Regions from separate parts of the Homo sapiens genome. Here region 2 is linked to region 1. Evidence: promoter capture Hi-C in 16 types of primary human blood cells and fetal thymus (Javierre and others, 2016). All regions are on one chromosome and are shown on one strand. The core of a region is centred on a gene start or on the middle of the fragment in contact, and the rest is flanking DNA. Distances in the headings are between cores, read along the strand shown. Region 1 holds the start of GLB1L (galactosidase beta 1 like). Region 2 overlaps LOC105373883 (a long non-coding RNA gene).

What was found. The method cuts DNA at HindIII sites, captures the fragments that hold promoters and counts their contacts. A CHiCAGO score of 5 or more calls a contact.
Region 2: a fragment that was not itself captured here is called in contact with the fragment with the promoter of GLB1L in region 1 in 2 of 17 cell types (M1 macrophages and M2 macrophages); the score reaches 7.2 in M1 macrophages.

The regions. Positions count from the first base shown.
Region 1 is chr2:219,243,191-219,247,558 of GRCh38, forward strand. It overlaps GLB1L (galactosidase beta 1 like), which reads right to left and starts at 2,254. Exons shown (of 17, transcript NM_001286423.2): 1 at 2,039-2,254; 2 at 312-453; 3 at 1-124. The coding sequence starts at 383. STK16 (serine/threonine kinase 16) reads left to right here and starts at 2,289. Exons shown (of 8, transcript NM_001330213.2): 1 at 2,289-2,606; 2 at 2,706-2,895; 3 at 3,467-3,686; 4 at 3,923-4,056; 5 at 4,225-4,345. The coding sequence starts at 2,810. RefSeq lists enhancers at 1,970-2,552, 2,001-2,430. The HindIII fragment of the contact is 6,920 bases long and covers 1-4,368 here.
Region 2 is chr2:219,360,644-219,365,041 of GRCh38, forward strand. LOC105373883 (a long non-coding RNA gene) reads right to left here. Exons shown (of 2, transcript XR_923917.3): 2 at 1,859-2,165. Among named protein-coding and RNA genes, the nearest start is that of DNPEP, 25 kb to the right of the region's middle. RefSeq lists an enhancer at 1,920-1,969. The HindIII fragment of the contact is 1,677 bases long and covers 1,856-3,532 here.

The sequences.
Region 1 (4,368 bases), core at 1,004-3,503:
GGTCGGCCCAAAGCACCCGCGGTACCCGAAAGTAGTGCAGGCTGCCAGACACATAGCGGAACGGGGCCCCGTCTAGGAGAAACCGGTCATGACCCCTATCCACTACGAACGACCGAGTGTCTGCCTATAAAGAGAAAGAGACGCTGCTCAGCAGACGCCTGGAGGGAGCGTCGAGGGTCAGCGCCTGCCAAGAGCGGAAGAGATGGAACTAGCCCTGCGGGTTGTTTGGTTGTTACTTTGGACTTTCTCTCATCCGCTGGATCTGATCCCGCTCACCGCACCCGGCAGGCTGGTTCACCGTCTCATCTTACCTGGGGCAGCAGTAGCGTCAGGCTGAGCGGCAGCAGCAGGGAACGAAGGCAGGACAGCTTCTTGGGAGCCATGGCGTTTACAGCGCTCCTCTAGTCTGAGACGGCGGACAGACCGTCACGTGTCGGATTCCTGGGAGGGAACCTCAGCGAGCAAGGGGGCGGAAACCACCTCAAGTTGCCAGGCGTTTAGCCTGGACTTCCTCTCCAGCCTGCAGCCACCCCCTTACTCTACTAGTTTGTAAAATTTCTACATCATGTTAAAGTGCAGTTCACGAACCAGCTTCATCGACATCACCTGGGAACTTGTTAGAAATGGAGAATCTGGCTGGGCACGATGGCTCACGCCTGTAATCCCAACACTTTGGGAGGCCGAGGCGGGTGGATCACTTGAGGTCAGGAGTTCAAGACCAGCTTGGCCAACAGGGCAAAACCCTGTCTCTACTAAAAATACAAAAATTAGCCGGGCCTGGTGGCACGCGCCTGTATTCCAAGCTACTCCGAGGGTGGGGGTGGGGGTGGGGGTGGGGGTGGGGGTAGGGGCTGAGGCAGGAGAATTGCTTGAACCCGGAAGGCGGAGGTTGCAGTGAACCGAGATCCTGCCACTGCACTCCAGCCTGGGCAACAGAGCGAGACTCTGTCTCAAAAAACACAAACAAACAAACAAAAGAAATGTAAAATCTCAGATCCTACCTCAGACCTATAGAATCAGAATTTGTATTTTAACAAGATTCCCAGGTGATCCTAGGCACCTTCAAAATTGAGAAGCATGGCTTTACTTGACTGGGCTCCCTGAGGACAGGGAGTGCCCTGTTCATCTCAAATCCTCAGCCTCTAGCACAGGGCCGGGTATATAGTAGGTTAAATCTGGATGAATCAATGTCATAACCAAAAGGCTAAAACAGGTTCAGAACCAGGGGAAACCATTGGAAAATCTTCAGGGTGATCCGGGGTGTGGAAGGGAGGAACCAGGTCACAAGAAGGACCTCTTTCCTGGAGAGTCCTGTTTCAGCAAAACAGCCATTCCCTCCTGGCCATTCCACCTTCTTTGGAAGTGCACCCCTCTCCAGCTTACCCCTGCCTGCCTCCGCAACAGATATTAAGGACAACTGCTTTGTGCCAAAGCTCGAAAATCTGTGAATTTCCGTTCCTTTTGCCTTTACAGTCTCAAGAATGGGATGTGAAGATCAGGGTAATAATAATTACGGTTTATTGACACGTACTGAAGGCTATGTGTCAGATATTGTATTAAACACTGTACATCTCATTTAATCTTCAACTCCATGAGGTAGATAATTATTTCCATTTTACAGAGGAGGAGAGGAAAGGACAGAAACATTAAGTAGCCTGTCCAAGGTCACACAACTACGTTAACGGAGCTGTCATTTGAACTAGTCAGTCTGGCCTCACAGTTAAGCTACTTAACCTTATGTACTATTATACCTATTTTACAGCTACCAAAAGTAAGGATCCGAGAGGTTAAGTAACTTGCCCGAGGTTACACAGCTAGCATGCTATTAACACTCAATTTAGAAACTGGAAGTCTGGTTCACAAGCCTGAGCTCTTAACCACTGAGACTAGGGGTAGTGGGATACAGGCCAGAGCCCAGAAGGTTGTACGGGATCAGGAGACCAGGCCACCAGACCCGCCCCTCACTGGATCCCCCTCCAGGCTGCAGTGTAGTTGGCCGCTTTCTGCCCCAGAGCGCCAGAGGTATGAAGCCTCCTACCTCCAACATTGGGAGATGGAGGTCCTGGGGGCCTCGGGCCGAGCCCGGCTTTGCTCCCCTTTGGCGTAGGTGCCTGCGTCTTGACCCCCACCGAAGGCCAAGTAGAGAACCCTCACCAGGGTCCTGGGACCCGTCCACCCCTACACCTAGCTAGCCCGGAGCCTCTCAGCTCCGCGTCCCCACATCCTCCGGATGCCCAGCGGTTGCTGAGATACCGCGGGCCGTTACGCCGGCGCGGACTGATGATGTCAGCACTGCTTCCGGTCGGTGGCGCTTCTCTCTGGCCCGAGCCAGGTCAGTCCGGCAGTGCAGATGGCCCATCCCGGGCTCTGGGCTCCTAGACCGGGGTGGGCCCTGCCAGGAGTGGGCCTGAGCCTCGCACGTCCTCTGAAACTACGCTATGCTCTGCTTTTGCGGCGCGATGGGCGTGGGAGCGGGGGCTGCCCAAAGATGGGCTGGGGTTGGAGGAAGTGGCCCGGTAGCCGCTGTGTGTCCTGAGGCCGTAAGGCGCCTGACCCCACCCCTGAAGCTGGCGACGGAGCAGGGCCTGTTTTCTCTACACTATAGTGTAGGTTCCAGAGACCTGGGCCTGAGCTCTCCGCATTGGTACTTCATGGGTCGTCTGGATTGTGCCGGACCTGTGACCCTGCCGTTGTTTTCTTTCCAGCATGATCCGCTGGGCCCCCAGCGCATCTCCTGGAAGAGCCCACTCACCCTGGACGAGCTCTTCGGTAGCCTCAGACCGTCCTTGAAGAGGATGACTGAGACATTATGGGCCACGCGCTGTGTGTCTGCTCTCGGGGAACTGTCATCATTGACAATAAGCGCTACCTCTTCATCCAGAAACTGGGGGAGGGGTGAGTGTTTGGAAGTCAGTTAACTAGTCCTCAAGTTTATGATCATTGAAGGACAGCGGTGTGCATATGCTTGGGGCACAAGGGTTTTATCCCTATCCCTGTCCTCTCTCACCTGACAGAACCTAGCTACACAGTATCAAGAAGGTGGATTCTGGAGCCAGGCCTGCTAAATCCACCTCGTGTGACCTTGATAAACCATGTTTTTTTCATCAGCTTAATGGAGATGATTATTATCCCTCACTGATGGAGTTGTGAGGATTAAATGAGATAATGTGTATAAAATGTCTCACCCAATGCGGGGTTGACAAGTACTTGATAAGTGTTGGCTATTATTTATTTAGCATCTGTCAAGTGCAGAGGTCTCTATTACGACCATAGGACCTCAAAGATTTCTATATCTCTGCTCCTGAGGAGCTCACGGTGTAATATTCTTCAGATTTCTCTTAGAGCCACATCTTGGGAAGGTTTCTGCTAAATGGGAAGGACACCCCACTCCCCACCAGGAAATTTCTCTAGGTCCAAGCCATGTGGGAGATGACCATGGCCCTTTATTGACCCCTTTGGCCCACAGTGGGTTCAGCTATGTGGACCTAGTGGAAGGGTTACATGATGGACACTTCTACGCCCTGAAGCGAATCCTGTGTCACGAGCAGCAGGACCGGGAGGAGGCCCAGCGAGAAGCCGACATGCATCGCCTCTTCAATCACCCCAACATCCTTCGCCTCGTGGCTTACTGTCTGAGGGAACGGGGTGCTAAGCATGAGGCCTGGCTGCTGCTACCATTCTTCAAGGTCAGAAAGACTCCTGGTTATGGAGGGGGTTGCAGCAGAGCCACCTACTCAAGGGCTGTGTGAGCAGTCCAGCATGTTAGGAAGCAGGGACCATGTCCTGGGTTTGGCCACTTTAGATTTTGAGTTTGAGGTGTGTATCATGAAAGGGCTGATAGGCTTTGACATAGGGAAGGGATCAGGCCTAAGGAGCAGAGGCTCCAAAAACATCTCCAACTGTAGGGAAACTTGTGTTGCAGAGAGGTACGCTGTGGAATGAGATAGAAAGGCTGAAGGACAAAGGCAACTTCCTGACCGAGGATCAAATCCTTTGGCTGCTGCTGGGGATCTGCAGAGGCCTTGAGGCCATTCATGCCAAGGGTTATGCCCACAGGTCAGTGGGAGGACCCTGTGTGCTTGCTGGGGCCCAGAGGAAGAGCCTCACCAGGAGACATGGGAGGTCTCTGTTCTCCCAAGAAACAGCCTGTATGATTCTTTTGCTTGCTGGGATTCCAGCCTTCCTGTCCAGAGATGCTCATAGGTCACTTCTACTTCTCTACAGAGACTTGAAGCCCACCAATATATTGCTTGGAGATGAGGGGCAGCCAGTTTTAATGGACTTGGGTTCCATGAATCAAGCATGCATCCATGTGGAGGGCTCCCGCCAGGCTCTGACCCTGCAGGTAAAAGAGTCTCCAGGTTCCTT
Region 2 (4,398 bases), core at 1,444-3,943, 120 kb after region 1:
CCCTCCATTGTTATCTCTTTGTTCTAGTATAACCCTCCCCACCAAGTAGTTTCTGGTCCCTAGGAATAATTGTCACTTCATTACCTTCATGACTCTTACCACTGTCCATGACTTCTTCGTTTTTTGTTGTTGTTGTTGTTGTTGTTTGTTTGTTTTGTTTGTTTTGAGATGGAGTTTTTGCTCTGTTGCCCAGGTTGGAGCGCAATGACGATCTTGGCTCACTGCAACCTCTGCCTCTTGGGTTCAAGCAATTCTCTTGCCTCAGCCTCCCAAGTAGCTGGGATTGTAGGCGCCTGCCACCACACCCAGCTAATTTTTGTATTTTTATTAGAGATGAGGTTTCACCATGTTGGCCAGGCTGGTCTTGAACTCTTGACCTCAGGTGATCTACCTGCCTTGGCCTCCCAAAGTTCTAGGATTACAGATATGAGCCACCGCGGCCGATGGACTTCTTCCTTTGTTTACTTGTTTATTTGCGTCTCCCCACTGGAGTGTAAATTTCAAGAGGACAGAAGACATGTCTGTTTGATTTGCTATCACATCCTCAGTGTCTGGCTCAGGACCTAGCTCAGCCTGGATGCTCCAAAATGAAACAGATTTTGGGTCCTGAGGCCCCAGATGAAACACCTCTGCCTCAGTGCTCTTATCTGTTAGATGGGCAGCTCATCAGGGTGACTGTGAAAATGAAATGAGATGATGGATATAAAGCAGCCTCGTGTTGCACAAATGCATTGTGAGTTGAATTCTAGTTCCTTTCAGCTTCAGCCTCTCTGGGTTTGTAGATTTCGGCTATGCCCCAAGGTTTCAAGGTGAAAGACCTTGAAACCCAGAAGGGCAGAGAGGCCTGGTCTGGTAGAGAATCAGGAGCAGAATCCAGGAGACCTGCCTTACAGCTCACCAGGGGGAAGGTGTGAGACAGCCCACCTGACCCCAGGGAACAAAGGCTGCCCACCTTGATAGGGAGAGGGTGGGCCACCATGCCTGTGCCTCTTCTTGGATAGCCAGTGGGGATGGTGCTATCATTGCACTGAGGCCTGCAAGACTCAGGCCACCACCCTTTGTCGGGAAACAAGGTCTTCCCTCAAGGACAGGATCACCTCTGGTGGGAATCTCCTAGAGAAGAGGCAGCTCCTCAGGCCAGGCACGGTGGCTCACGCCTGTAATCCCAGCACTTTGGGAGGCCGAGGCGGGTAGATCACAAGGTCAGGAGTTCAAGACCAGCCTGGCCAACATGGTGAAACCCCGTCTCTACTAAAAGTACAAAAATTAGCTGGCCATGGTGGCATGTGCCTGTAGTCCCAGCTACTCTGGAGGCTGAGGCAGAAGAATTGCTTGAACCCGGGAGGCAGAGGTTGCAGTGAGCAGAGATTGTGCCACTGCATTCCAGCCTGGGTGACAGAGCAAAACTCCATCTCAAAAAAAAAAAAAAAAAGAGAGAGAAGAGGCAGCTCCTCCGAGATGGGTCAGAGCTCTATGGGGAGCCCCAGGTGGGCATCTAGATGGTGAAGAGCCCAAAGACTCTAGAAGTGGGTTCTCGGGACTTGCGCATGCGTACATGTGTTTATATGTGTATACATGTGTTTATATGTTTGTGCATGGGTGTTGTGTCCATGTGTTTATATGTGTGTGCATGTGTTTGTATGAATCAATGTGTACTGTATGCATGTGTGTTTGTGTGTGCGTATGTAGGTTTGTATGTGTGGGAGATGTATTTGTGTATGTAGATGGGATGTGTGTGTCAATGTGTATATGTGTACATGTAGTGTACTTGTATTCATTGTCTATTACTTTTTTTAAAAATCCAGTTTTAGCAAAGAATATCTATGGCTTATTGCTACATGACAAATTACCCCAAAGCTTAGTCGCTTAAACTATAAACATCTATTTCACAGTTTCTGTGGACTGGGAATCTGAGAGAGGCTTAGCTGGGTATTTTTGGTTCAGGGTCTCTCTTGAAGTTGCAGTGAAGATGTTACTCAGGGTTGGCTGTAGTCTTCTGAAGGCTTGCGTGGGGCTAGAGGATCCACTTTCAAGATGACTCACCCTCCTGGCAAGACGATGCTGGCTGTTGGCAGGAGGTCTCAGTTCCCTACCACATCAGCCTCTCCATATGGCTGCTTGAGTGCCTCATGACACAGCAGCTGGCTTCCTCTGGAGTGAGTGACCTGAGAGAGAGAGAGAACCAGGCAAAAGCCACAGTGTTTTTAAAACCTAGCTTTGGAAGTCCCATGCCATCATTTCTGCCATATTATACTGGCCACAGAGACCAACCCTGATACACTGTGGGAGGGACTACACAAAGGCATGAATTCCAAGAGGTAAGGATCACTGGAGGTCATCTTGTAGGATGGCTATCACATGCAGTATGTGCGTGTGGGTATGTGGGGTGTGTGTTTGTGGGTGTGTACATAAAGATGTGTGTGTTTGTGTATATATGTGTATGTTTTTGCATATGTATATATGGATATATAGCAATATGTTTGTGTGACATGTATCTATGTATTGTCTGCATATGTGTATGCATGCATTTATGTATATGTATCTGTGTATTGCACATGTGTGTTTTTTGCGCACGAGTATGCATGCATGTATTATGCCTACATGCATGTCTCTGTGTTTGTATGTTGTGCATGTGTGCATATATGTGTATGCCTTTTTGTATGTATTTGTAGTATGTGAATGAGCATATGTATGCATGTGTGATGGGTTTGTATATGTATCCAGGTGTATATGTGTGTCTATGCCTGTGGCTGTATATGTTTGCAAACATTGTATGTGCATGTGCACCTGTGTTGTGTGTGTGCATGTATGCTTACATGTGTGTGTTTCTGTATAGATGTCCATGTGTAAGTCCGCATGTGTCTGTTTATGTGTGTGTAGGTGTATATATGTTACGTTTATGTATGTGTGTGAGGTGTATGTGTGTAGGTTTGAGAATATGTGTGTGCATTACTATGTACATATTGCACTTGTATATATAAATGTGTGCTGGCACATGCATACAAACTTAGGAATGTCACCTGCTGTGGGAGGAAAGCCTGGAGTCAGGAGTGGGGAGACTCAGGGAGGAGTCCCTATTATTCCTGGGGTAGCCCATGAGTGGAAGGCTCTGGAGCCTGGAGAGCAGGCTCTCCCTTGCATTTAGGATATGTGGATCCATGGTCCTCTGCATCTGGCTTTCCTTTGTCAAGGCTTTCTGTTGTTGTTCATTTTTGTTTGAACATTTCAGTCTTTCCTAAGCTGTCAAATAAAGCAGCAGAGAAAGGGTGGTCTCTATTGCCTGGAAGTTGAGAGTTCAGTGTAGACTAGTGCCCCTTTGGGGCTGGCCTGGGGAAAACAAGGGGATTTCCCTGGAGAGCACGGCTGACCCTCCCTCTCATCTCTTCTCGCCTAGGGCCACTCTGGGAGCTTCTGGAGTTTATTGGGCAAGAAGGGAGGGCATTTCTTTACTTCTAATAATCCAGTCATCTTAGGAGCCACTCTTTTCCTCTTTCCATTTAGAATATTTCTGACACCAACTTTTGTGTTTAGAAGCTTTTATGCTTTTTTTTAAAAAAAGTATTTTTACCTTTTGATTATGAAAGGTAATACATATGAACAGAAGTAGACAGAATGTAAAGATACAGCTCAACAGATTTTCAGAGTGAATAGCCATTTATACTATCCAATAAGAGGGTTCAGGACATGCCACCCAGAAACATGGCACACTGGCATGTTGAATATTTTAAGCTGGAAGGATCTGAGAAACAGCATGTGCAGGACAATCTCTCTGACTTCCCTGATCCTTCTCTCCTGAAGGGATCTCCCTGATCCTTTCCCCATGTGAAAGGTGTCCTTCCTCCAAAGATGGGGACACAGACAGGAATCTGAACACATGGGCCTTGTTAAGTCTTTTGGGTAAATAAAATTAGTTTTAAGATTGTTGGCAGGCTGGGCGCAGTGGCTCACACCCCTAATCCCAGTGCTTTGGGAGGCTGAGACAGGAGCATTACTTGCGCCCAGGAGTTTGAAACCAGCTTGGACAACATACTGAGACTTGGTCTTTACAAAAAGTTTAAAAAGTAGGCCGGGCTTAGGGGCTCACGCCTGTAATCCCCGCACTTTGGGAGGCCGAGGTGGGTGGATCACTTGAGGTCAGGAGTTCAAGATAAGCCTGGCCAACATGGTGAAACCCCGCCTCTACTAAAAATACAAAAAATTAGACTGGCGTGGTGGCAGGCGCCTGTAATCCCAGCTAGTTGGGAGGCTGAGGCAGGTGAATCCCTTGAGCTTAGAAGTTCAAGGCTGCAGTGAGCTGTGTTCACACCACTGCAATCCAGTCTGGGCAGCAGAGTGAGACCTTGTTTATATAGATTAAAAAAAAAAAAAGCCAGGTACAGTGGCTCACGCCTGTAATCC